4 separate regions of the Homo sapiens genome follow, and all the other regions are linked to region 1. Evidence: promoter capture Hi-C in 16 types of primary human blood cells and fetal thymus (Javierre and others, 2016). All regions are on one chromosome and are shown on one strand. The core of a region is centred on a gene start or on the middle of the fragment in contact, and the rest is flanking DNA. Distances in the headings are between cores, read along the strand shown.

Region 1 (2,700 bases), core at 33-2,532:
AGAAACTGCGAGGATCCGAGCGTACTGTTTGTGCACCACAAGGTCAAGTCGGGAAGTGGAGCCGGAGGAGGAGGGGCGAGGAGGCGAAGGGTGGGGAGAGGGGCGCCCCGCTTCCTCGCCATGTGCCAGCCTTTGGAAGTTACCCCTCGGTTTTTAACCCTTTCGGGGTAATGGGAAGGAAGAGCAAGGAGGAAGGGGTCGCCCCGGGGCAAAATCCTGCTGGGGCCAGGATGTGCAACCACCCACCCACCCGCTCATCACTGCCTTCTCCACCCCCCGGAAATGCGGGGCAGCGCTAGGCGCCAGGAGGCACCCGGGAGGGGGGAGGGGGCGACGAGCCCAATGGGGACCCTCTCTACGGACCGCCCCTCTTTTCTTGAGGTCGCCTACAATTTCAAGTTCCCCCGCCCGGAATGTTAGTTTTCCATTTGGAGTGGGTGCGGGGAGGAGGGCCGCGCCCCCTCCCCAAGACTCGCGTTCGCCCCTCCACTCCCCTCCTGCCAGCACTTTCTGCTCACTTCTGGTGCTGCAAAACGCCACGCAATTTATTCGATTCGCATTTTAAAACCAGCGATTCAGAAGCAGGGCCTAGGGCGAGGGTCTTCCAGCGCTGGAGCCCCGGGGGGCGGGGTGCTCAGTGCAAACCTCGTTCCCTCCGCGAGTGTCGCCTCCAGGCTGTTATTTGCAAAGAAACGTCTTTTTGACGCAGGGAGAAATGGCAAATTTTAAGTACGTCATTAATATGGCGCCAAAAGATTTTTTTAAGTATAAGCTCGCTTTTTTTTTTTTTTAAGGTTGCGGGGGGCGCCGCCCGGGTCTGGGGCGCGTAGGGGGCGGGGTGTGAGCAGAAAGTGTGAGTGAAAGAGTGGAGGGGCGGGGTATGTGTGTGAGTGTGTGAAGTGTGAGCAGACCTGATGGGACTTGCACGGGCGCAGCCGCCGCTCGGGCCCGGCCCTGGGGACAGGGCGGGCTAGGGGCGCCCCAGAGTCCATGGGGAGTCCGGGCCCAGGGTGCCAGCAGGCGTGGTGGTGGGGCTGCGAGGGAGGGCACCCTTCCCCCACGGGGCCCGCAACGCTACCTGGACTCCCCGCCGGAGCCAAACAACTGGGCGGGGGGTTGGGGGGGCGGCGACGGGGGTGTCGGGAGCGGAGATCCGAGTGAATAAGAAAAAAGTGGCTACTCCCCCTCCCTCGCTCCTCCTGCCCGCCCCCACCCCACCCCCACCCCAACACATTTTTTTTTTCTAAAGAGATCACAAGGAAGTCTTGGTTTAAAAAGAAACAGAAACATACACAGGGGGTTGGTGAATGGTGCCGACCGCGGCCATCGCAGTTGGAGGCTATTTTTTGGGGGGGGTGAGTAGCGTCCATGGAGTTACTTTGCGCCCACTCCTAGCGGCACCGGCTTAGGTCCTGCGGGCCGACCGTCCCCGGCGGGGGGCGTGGGGCCTGGGACGCCGCGGGCCCGGCCGCCTCCCTCGCCGCGACCCCGGATGGATGCGCGCCCCCCGCCCTCCCGCGCCGGCCCCAGGAGCTCCCGGCTTCGGGAGCATCCTTCCCGCGCCGGTCCCTGCAGCGGCGCGTAGCCGAGGGCAGCGCCCGTCAGGGGGGCACCGCGGAGCAAGGTAAGATCCAGCCCCCGGCGGATGGGCCCTGCGCATCTCCACGACGTTATTTGGCGTTTTTGCAACAGATCTGCCAGCGCTCTTCGCTCCCTCGCTCTCTCTTGCTCGCTCGCTCCCTCTCTCTCCTGCTGGCTGCCTGTTCTAGGAAGCCAGCGCGGAGAGGGGGGGGATGCACAGCACAGGGGAGAGAGATTGCGCATGTTGGTCAGTCGTGTTTTAAAGAGTACAGTGCGGGGAGGCTGAGAGGGGCGCATGCAACAACAACTTTTGGAAGGGTGAGCTTGGCGACCTTCTTTATTAATGACTGCGGCAAAGCGCCCCCGGGCCGGCGAGGGGGCGCGGGCGGGCGGGGGCGCGCCAGGGCTGCAACTTCCCCGCGGGCTCCGGCCGGGCGTAGGGGCTGCGGCGGGAGATGGGTACGGTGGGGAGGTCGAGCGGCCCGGGCGGGGGCTCCGAGAACCTGGAGCTATCTGCCCTCCTGTCTCCCCGAGTTTCATTTTGTTGATACGCAGCACGTCCGGGCGCCGAACCGGGCTGAGCCGGTGCACATGACCTCGCGCTGGGCTCACGTGCAGCCGGTCCGGTCCCAGACACCTTCCGGGGGCCACCGCCTCCGCCCTGTCGCCCCCTCTCCCGGCCCGGTGCACGCGGGCGCTGCACGCGGGGGCAGCATGCTCGGCTCCTGGGGTTGGAGGCTCTGCACAAATTAGACAGTTTTTTTGGAGGGGCGGGGGACACCCTTTCCAGGTGAGTGTGGAGGGTGCGGAGCCTCGGCGCCAGGGGTGAGGACTGGGGTCGGGGGCAGCCTCCACCTCCGGGGCCGCGCGGTAGTCCAGCTGGGGAGAGGCGCTGGGAGAGTGGAAATGTACCGGCGGCGGCCGGAGCGGCGGGTGCGCGCCCGCGGGGCGACGGCAGGGGGCGTGGCCCTTGTTTACCTTCTCCCAACTCTGCCGGTTCGCGTCCCGCTTCAGGGACGGATCCGCAGTCCCCAGCCCTCTGCCTAGGGCCCTGCACCATGGGTGGTACCAGGAAGATGCCGGCTTGTGGCGGACCCCGTTTGGGACGCACACACCTGA
Region 2 (2,700 bases), core at 15-2,514, 140 kb before region 1:
GACTGGAGTGCAATGGCACAATCTTGGCTCACCGCAACCTCTGCCTCCCGGGTTCAAGTGATTATCCTGCCTCAGCCTCCTGAGTAGCTAGGACTATAGGCACATGCTACCACGCCTGGCTAAGTTTTTGTATTTTTAGTAGAGATGGGGTTTCACAGTGTTAGCCAGGATGGTCTCCATCTGACCTCATGATCCGCCCGTCTGAGCCTCCGAAAGTGTTGGGATTACAGGCGTGAGCTACTGCACCAGGCCAGTTCTGGTCATCTTACAAGCGTTGTTTTTCAACCTTCCTATCTCATTCTCTTCCTGCTAAATGTATATGTTTTGTTGATTAAAGGAAATAAGACTTATCTCCCAAATTTACTGTCAAGACATTTGCAAAGTAACTGCAGTAATAGAGTTTAACCTTGGAAAATGTTGGTTACTGAGAATTATTGATATCTTAACCAAATTAAGCTGTTTATTTCCTTGGTTTAATGAGAACGTCTCAATATGCTTAAGAATATTCTTTTCTGATTTCTTTCAAATTATAGGTATTTTTTTCTTTTCTTTTTTCTTTTTTTTTTTTTTGAGACGGAATTTCACCCTTGTTGCCCAGGCTGGAGTACAGTGGCGCGATCTCAGCTCACTGCAACCTCTGCCTCCCGGGTTCAAGCAATTCTCCTGCCTCAGCCTTCCGAGTAGCGGATTACGGGCATGCGCCACCACACCCGGCTAATTTTGTATTTTTAGAAATTACGGGGTTTTCTCCATGTTGGTCAGGCTGGTCTCGAACTCCCTACCTCAGGTGATCTGCCCGCCTCGGCCTCCCACAGTGCTGGGATTACAGGCGTGAGCCACCACACCCGACCTCTTTTTCTTTTTTAATAGAAACAGGGTCTCCCTATGTTGCCCAGGCTGGGCTTGAACTGCTGGGCTCAAGGGATCCTCCTGCCTTGGCCTCCCAAAGTGTTAGGATTACAGGCACAAGCCACTGTACCCAGCTGAAATTATAGGTCTTAAGGCAATTGAGAACTTTATTTCAGAAGCTTAAGTTCCTTAGCAGCAGGAAACCCCATAGTATTTATCAAATCATTTCTAAAAGTATTTAGACCCAAAATTATATGACATGTTAATCTCTGAAGTAATTTGTTGTTTTGTATAACTTTTCTGTAATATATTCCATATCTGACCCCTGTTGGTATAAAGAACAACTATGCAAATCTGTTTTTTCTTTTCTTTCCTCCTAGTCTCTGCTGGATGAACCGAATCCTAACAGTCCAGCCAATAGCCAGGCAGCACAGCTTTATCAGGAAAACAAACGAGAATATGAGAAAAGAGTTTCGGCCATTGTTGAACAAAGCTGGAATGATTCATAATAGACAACTGGTCTGTTAATCTTTTTCATCATTGTTGTGTATAATTTACCTCTCATTAGAAAGGCTAACAAATTTTAAGTGCCACAGGTTTTAAGGATTCTGCAGAAAAAAAAGAAAAAAGTCCTTCAGTTTAGAACCTACAAAAGCTTGTGTATCTTGATTAATGTACTTTTTATTGCATGGTGTGAACTAAGTTATTGCTGCATAAATTTGTAATATATCCTGTTTGTATTTTTTTCCAAGTGTATAATGTTGGTGTGGAGTTTTCATGACAGAATATACACATTTTGTAAATCTGTACTTTTTTCAAATATTGAATGCCTTATTTTTGAATTCTTTAGATTTTTAAATTGGAGAAAAGCACTTAAAGTTTTTTATATATGAATATTACATGTAAAGCTGTTAAAATACATAACTTCAGTGCAAGAGACTTTGTCACTTATTTCCTTATGTGTGTAGGAGGGGTTAATAAGTCTCTAGCTCTCCATCTATTGATAGTTTCATTTACAATTTCAAAAGAACATTCTTATATTTTATCAAGGAAGTCTTCAAATTTGATTCTAAATAGCGATTATAATCTCCAACTTTATTTTGAATGTACCTCTATTAGTTTCAATTGAGTAATTCTAGACATAACTGGTTTGACTCTGTCCAACTCTGTATTTAGGCCATTTGTTACAGTTTCTTCATGCATTACTTACTGTTAAAACTGTACCTTTTGCGATTTCACAGTTGGCACTTCTGCCATGAGCAGAGAACTGATGCGACTTGTTTTGCTGCTTGGTAGCACTTTAAAAAATTTTTTGATTAATGAAGAAAGTAAAACCATAAACATTTGCCAAAAATTCATGCCCCAGTATTAGCAATGAATTAGTTGCATTGGTTTGAGAAAGGCACATATTGGAGGGAAATCTTGGTGTAACTTAAATATTTGAAAATTACCTTTAATGCAATGCATATCTGTTTATTCTGGGAAATGTTTTAATGCCAGGGCCTGCTGAGTTGCTTCTTCTTGTGGAGATTTTTTTTTTAATCTCCTGAGTTGTATAAAAGTTGTACTGCATCTTAGTTTACTGGATAAATTTAAAACACAGTATTGTAGAAAGCTAATACAAAACTATCCTATGCCTTCAAATAGTATAGAAAATGGAAAATATACAAGTAAATTCTGTTGAACCACCTGTGTAGTCTCTCTAGTAGTTAAAACAGCTATTTTAGTAACCCCAAGAGTTTCTTCTCATATCCATAAAATTGGATTACAGTATGGCAATATCTACAGCTTCTATTCATTATGCAACGTTTAACATTGATTGGATAAATGCTTATAGGCTGGGCCAGGTGG
Region 3 (2,700 bases), core at 58-2,557, 200 kb before region 1:
TCAGTCTCAAAAAAAAAAAAAAATTGATGAGGTAGGTCTATCTATATGTGCTGAAATGGAATGATCTCCAAGATAAACTGTCAAGTGAAAAAAGCAACATTCATGAAAGAAATAAAAGATCTAAATAAATGGAGAGATACTCCATGTTCATCAATAGGAAGACTCAATATTGTCAAGATGTCAGTTCTTCCAAGCTTTATGTAGAGTCAATACAATCCCAGACAAAATCCCAGTAAATTAAAAATTGATAATTATGTGAGGTAACACACATATGTAAATTAGCCAAATTTAGTCATTTCACAACGTATATATATACCTCAAAACATCATGCTGTACACAATAAATACATACAATTTAATCTGTAAATTTTTAAAAATCCTAGGAAATTGTTTTGTAGATATTGACAATTGATTGCAAAGTTTATATGGAGAGGCAATAGACCCAGAATAGCCAACACAATTTGAAAAAGAACAAAGACTGACACTACTTGACTTCAAGATGTTTTATACAACAAGCAAGATAGTATGGTATTGGTGAAAGAATAGATAAATAGATCAAGGGAACAGAATAAAGAACCCAGAAATAGACTTGCACAAATGTGCTCAACTGATTTTTGACAAAGGAACAGAGGCAATTGAATAATAAGATAAAAAAAAGACAGTCTTTTCAACAAATAGTGCTGGAACATACAAAAAACTGAATCTAGACACAGACCTTATCCCTTTCACAAAAATTAACTCAAGATAGATGATAGACCTAAATATAAAATGCAAAACTGTAAAACCTCTAGACAATCACATAGGAAAAAATCTAGATGGCCTTAGGTTTGGTAATGAGTTTTTAGATACAACACCAAAAGTATAATTCACAAAAGAAAAAATTGATAGTTAGAACTTCACTAAAACTAAACTTTTCTGCTCCATGAGAGATACTGTTAAGCAAATAAAAAGACAAGCCACAAACTGCGAGAAAATATTTGCAAAATAATAAAGAACTTGTATCCAAAATACATAAAACTCTTAAAATTCAATAAGAAAATAACCCAATTAAAAAATGGGCAAAATATAAGAATATACATTTCACCAAAGAAAATATACAGATGGCAAATGGGCATATTAACAGATGCCCAGTATCATATGTCATCAGACAATTGCAAATTAAAACAACGAGATACCACTACACACCTATTAGAATGCCTAAAATCCAAAATACTGACAACATCAAATGCAGGTGAGGATGGCAAACAACAGGTACTCTCATTCATTGCTGGTAGAAACACAAAATTACACAGTCACTTTGGAGGACAATTTGACAGCTTCTAACAAAGCTAAACATAGTCTTACCATACAACCCAGCAATTGCTCTCCTTGGGATTTACCCAAGTGAGTAGAACACTTCTGTCCACATAAAAACCTGGACACGAATGCTTATAACAGCTTGCTTCATAATTGCCAACACATGGAAGCAATAAAGATGTCCTTCAATAGGTGAGTGGATAAACAAACTGTGGTACATACATACAATGGAATATTATTTAGCAATAAAAGAGAAGTGAGCTGTCAAGATACCAAAAAAAAAGGAGGAACCTTAAATATATATTGCTAGGTCAAAGAAGCCAGTCTGAAAAAGCTACATACTATGTGATTCCAACTATATGATATTCTGGAAAAGCCTAAAGTATAGTAACAGTAAAAAGACCAATGATTGCCAGCAGTTCTGGGAGAGGGACGGAAGAATAAAAACGAAGCACAGAAGATTTTTAGGACCATAAAATTATTCTGTATGATACTATAATGATGGATACATGACATTATACATTTATCAAAACCCAGGAAATACAACACAGAGTAAACTCTAAACTATGGAATTTAGTTAATAATGTTCAATATTGGTACATCAATTGTAACAAATGTACCACACTAATACAAGATGTTAGTAATAGAGAAATGTGTGGAGTAGGGTGGAGGGGACATAAGGAAACTACACTTTCTGTTCAATTCTTCTGGAGCCTAAAACTGGTCTAAAAATTAAAGTCCCTGAATATAAACAAATAAAAAGTGGCAGGGCTTGGTGGCTCATGCCTGTAGTCCCAGCTACTTTGGAGGCTGAGGCAGGAGGATCACTTGAGCCTGGGAAATCAAAGCTGCAGTGAGCCATGAGTATGCCACTGTACTTCAGCCTGTGAGACAGAATGCGACACTGTCTCATAAGTAAATAAAGAAGAGTGGGGAGGGAAACCAAGATTCTATACTATGTATATAGTATGTTCCTATTTCTGTTCAAAAGGAAGGAGATGGAGAAGTATGTGTATGCATGTGTGTATACTGCTAGATAATGACCTAAGAAATAAAGGAATTAATTATAGTATATACAGTTTTTCAGATCTACATTATAACCATAGATGATATAATAGTAACTTATAAGCTTGCTTATTTCACAAGTTTTAAGAATTTAATGAATATTAGTAAGTTTTAGTGAGAATAAATAAAATTAAGACCAAGTTTTGGATCTTTTGGTGAATACACATATGTGTATGTTCAGCTTTAATTGTTATTTAATAACAGTTTTCCAGAGAGATTGTACAAGTTTACATTTCCCCACCAGTGTTATGTGAGTTCTAACTGCTCCACTTACACTGGTATTTACTGTCTTTTTTTCAATTTAACCATTCTGGTGGTTATATAGTGGTACCACTTTGTG
Region 4 (2,700 bases), core at 163-2,662, 250 kb before region 1:
GGTTTCACCATGTTGGCCAGGCTGGTCTCCAACTCCCTATCTCAGGTGATCTCCCCACCTTGGCCTCCCAAGATGCTGGGATTACAGGGGTGGGTCATCGCACCCAGCTCCAGCTTTCTTTCAATTATTGTTTGCACACTATACTTTTTCCAACTTTTACTTTGAGCATTTCAGTGTCTTATACTTAAGATATTTTTTATATGCAGCATATAGCTGGGGTTTTTTTAACTTTTCTTTTTAGATTGGAGTCTTACTATGTTGGCCAGGCTGGCCTTGATGCCTAGCCTCAAGCAATCCTCCTGCCTCAGCCTTCTGAGTAGCTGGAATTATAGGCACATGCCACCATACCCAGGTTATAGTTAGATAATTTTTAATCCAATCTGATAATATTCATCTTCTATTTGGAGTATTTATTCTATTTGTTTTAATGTAATTACTAATACAGTTGGAATTATACTTACCATCTTTGACTTGAGTTTAATACAAATTACTATTTTAATATTTCCCTGATAATGCTAAAATCTTAGAACACTTTATCTCTATTTGCCCTCTCCTTCTTGCTTTATTGGAGTCATGAGTTTTAATTCTACATATATTTTAAGCCCTCATATTACTATGATTAATCTTTACAGTCAATATTTATTTATATTTACTCACACATTTCCCCCTTTTGTTATTCTTCATTCCCTTCAAATTTCCTGTTTCCATTTGGGACTATTTTCCTTCTGCCTTAAGAACTCTCTTCAGGCCAGGCACAATAGCTCACACCTGTAATCCCAGCACTTTGGAAAGCTGAGGTGGGAGGGTCACTTGAGGTCAGGGGTTCGAGACTAGCCTGGTCAACATTGTAAAACCCTGTATGTACCAATAATAATAATAATAATAATAATAGCTGGGTGTGGTGGCAGGTGCCTGTAATTCCAGCTACTTCGGAGGCTGAGGCATGAGAATCACTTGACCCCAGTAGGCGGAGGTTGCAATGAGCCGAGATTGCACCACTGTAGCCTGGGCAACAGAGCGTCTCAAAAACAAAACAAAACAAAACAAAAAAAAACCTCTCTTCAGCTTTTATCTTAAGGCAGATCTTCTGGCAATAAATTCTTTCTGCTTATATGTTTGCTTAGGGGGAGGTTACAGTGAGCCGAGATCATGTCATTGCACTCCAGCCCAGGCAACAAGGGTAAAACTGTCTTAAAAAGAAGAAAAGTCTGTATTTTGCCCTCATTTTTGTCACAGAATATACGATTCTAGCTTGGCAGCTATTTTCTTTCAGTACTTCAAAGGTGTCATTTCATTGTCTTCTGGATTTCATCATTTTTGTTGAGATCAGCTCCTTTAAAGGAAACATGACTTCTTGCCTTTTAGATTTTCTTTTTATATTTGAATTAAGCAGTTTCATTATGATGTGCTTAGGTGGGGTTTTCTTTCTTTTTTTTTTTTTTGAGACGGAGTCTCACTCGGTCGCCCAGGCTAGAATGCGGTGGTGCTGTCTCGGCTCACTGCAACCTCTGCCTCCCAGGTTCAAGCAATTTTCCCACCTCAGCCTCCCAAGTAGCTGGGATTACAGGTGCACGCCAGCACACCCGGCTAATTTTTTGTATTTTTAGTAGACATGGGGTCTCACCATGTTGGCTAGGCTGGTCTCACCTGGTCTCAAGTGATCTGCCCACCTCGGCCTCCCAAAGTGCTGGGGTTACAGGTGTGAGCCACCATGACCAGCCTAGGTGGGGTTTTCTTTGTATTTTTCCTGCCTGGGGTTTACAGAGCTTCTTAAATACATAAATTTTTGTCTTTCATCAGTTTGGTAGTATTTTTGGACATTCTCTTCAAATATTGCTTCTGCCTTATTTATTTATTTATTTATTTATTTTATTTATTTATTTTTGAGATAGAGTCTTGCTCTTTCACCTAGGCTGGAGCGCAGTGGCTCAATCTCAGCTCACTGCAACCTCCACCTCCCGAGTTCAAGCGATTCTTCTGCCTCAGCCTCCCGAGTAGCTGGGACTACAGACACGTGCCACCGTGCCTGGCTAACTTTTGTATTTTTAGTAGAGATGGGGTTTCACCATATTGGCCAGGCTGGTCTCGAACTCCTGACCTTGTGATCCACCTGCCTCAGCCTCCCAAAGTGCTGGAATTACAGGCGTGAGCCACCACGCCAGCGCTTCTGCCTTATTTTCTCTCTCCTCTTCTTATGGGAACCTAATTATACTTAGGTTAGATCTTTCCACTCTGTCTTGAAGGGGAAACAAACTATGTGTTCAGACTGTTCATGTCTCTGATGTTGTCACTCTAGCTGTATGAAACTACTAGAAAGTTCTGTTAGTTTCTCTGTACCGTAGTAGGGGCCCTCTTCCAGAGCTAAGTCTGAATTCTCAGTTTTTTTCTTGTTTCAAGAATCAGTCTATATTCCCCAGGAAAAAGCCACTGCAAACCATCAGCTCAACTCTCTGGAATTATCCCCTCAAATCACTATTACATCATCAGCTCTCTGCCTTTAAACAGAAATTTCTTGCATTTCACCTGGCTTTAGTGGTTCTCAGTGGATGTTTAATTTTGTTGCAAACTATCATATCTAGAAGCATAAGTATCTTACGCCATATGTTTTGAGACTGCATTTTTATTATCATTTTCTATGTATTATTTTATTATCATTTTCTATGTATTATTATATGGAAATTATTATCTAATTTCCATTAT

What was found. Contacts are between HindIII fragments. The CHiCAGO score rates a contact against its expected background, and 5 or more counts as called.
Region 2: a contact is called between a fragment that was not itself captured here and the fragment with the promoter of JADE2 in region 1, in 15 of 17 cell types (naive CD4 T cells, total CD8 T cells, total B cells and 12 more). The highest score is 17.1, in naive CD4 T cells.
Region 3: a contact is called between a fragment that was not itself captured here and the fragment with the promoter of JADE2 in region 1, in 6 of 17 cell types (erythroblasts, naive CD8 T cells, total B cells and 3 more). The highest score is 7.5, in erythroblasts.
Region 4: a contact is called between a fragment that was not itself captured here and the fragment with the promoter of JADE2 in region 1, in 1 of 17 cell types (total CD8 T cells). The highest score is 6.4, in total CD8 T cells.

The regions. Positions count from the first base shown.
Region 1 is chr5:134,524,388-134,527,087 of GRCh38, forward strand. It overlaps JADE2 (jade family PHD finger 2), which reads left to right and starts at 1,283. Exons shown (of 12, transcript NM_001388185.1): 1 at 1,283-1,624. It overlaps LOC124901070 (a long non-coding RNA gene), which reads right to left and starts at 1,215. Exons shown (of 3, transcript XR_007058942.1): 1 at 1,079-1,215; 2 at 519-696. RefSeq lists silencers at 53-372, 953-1,002, 1,023-1,242, 1,373-1,452, 1,483-1,742 and 1 more. The HindIII fragment of the contact is 6,085 bases long and covers 1-2,700 here.
Region 2 is chr5:134,388,996-134,391,695 of GRCh38, forward strand. It overlaps UBE2B (ubiquitin conjugating enzyme E2 B), which reads left to right. Exons shown (of 6, transcript NM_003337.4): 6 at 1,230-2,700. The coding sequence ends at 1,358. Among named protein-coding and RNA genes, the nearest start is that of UBE2B, 19 kb to the left of the region's middle. The HindIII fragment of the contact is 476 bases long and covers 1,027-1,502 here.
Region 3 is chr5:134,322,972-134,325,671 of GRCh38, forward strand. All of the region lies in intron 4 of CDKL3 (cyclin dependent kinase like 3), which reads right to left. Among named protein-coding and RNA genes, the nearest start is that of CDKL3, 43 kb to the right of the region's middle. The HindIII fragment of the contact is 2,230 bases long and covers 193-2,422 here.
Region 4 is chr5:134,278,790-134,281,489 of GRCh38, forward strand. No RefSeq gene overlaps it. Among named protein-coding and RNA genes, the nearest start is that of PPP2CA-DT, 54 kb to the left of the region's middle. The HindIII fragment of the contact is 5,733 bases long and covers 1-2,700 here.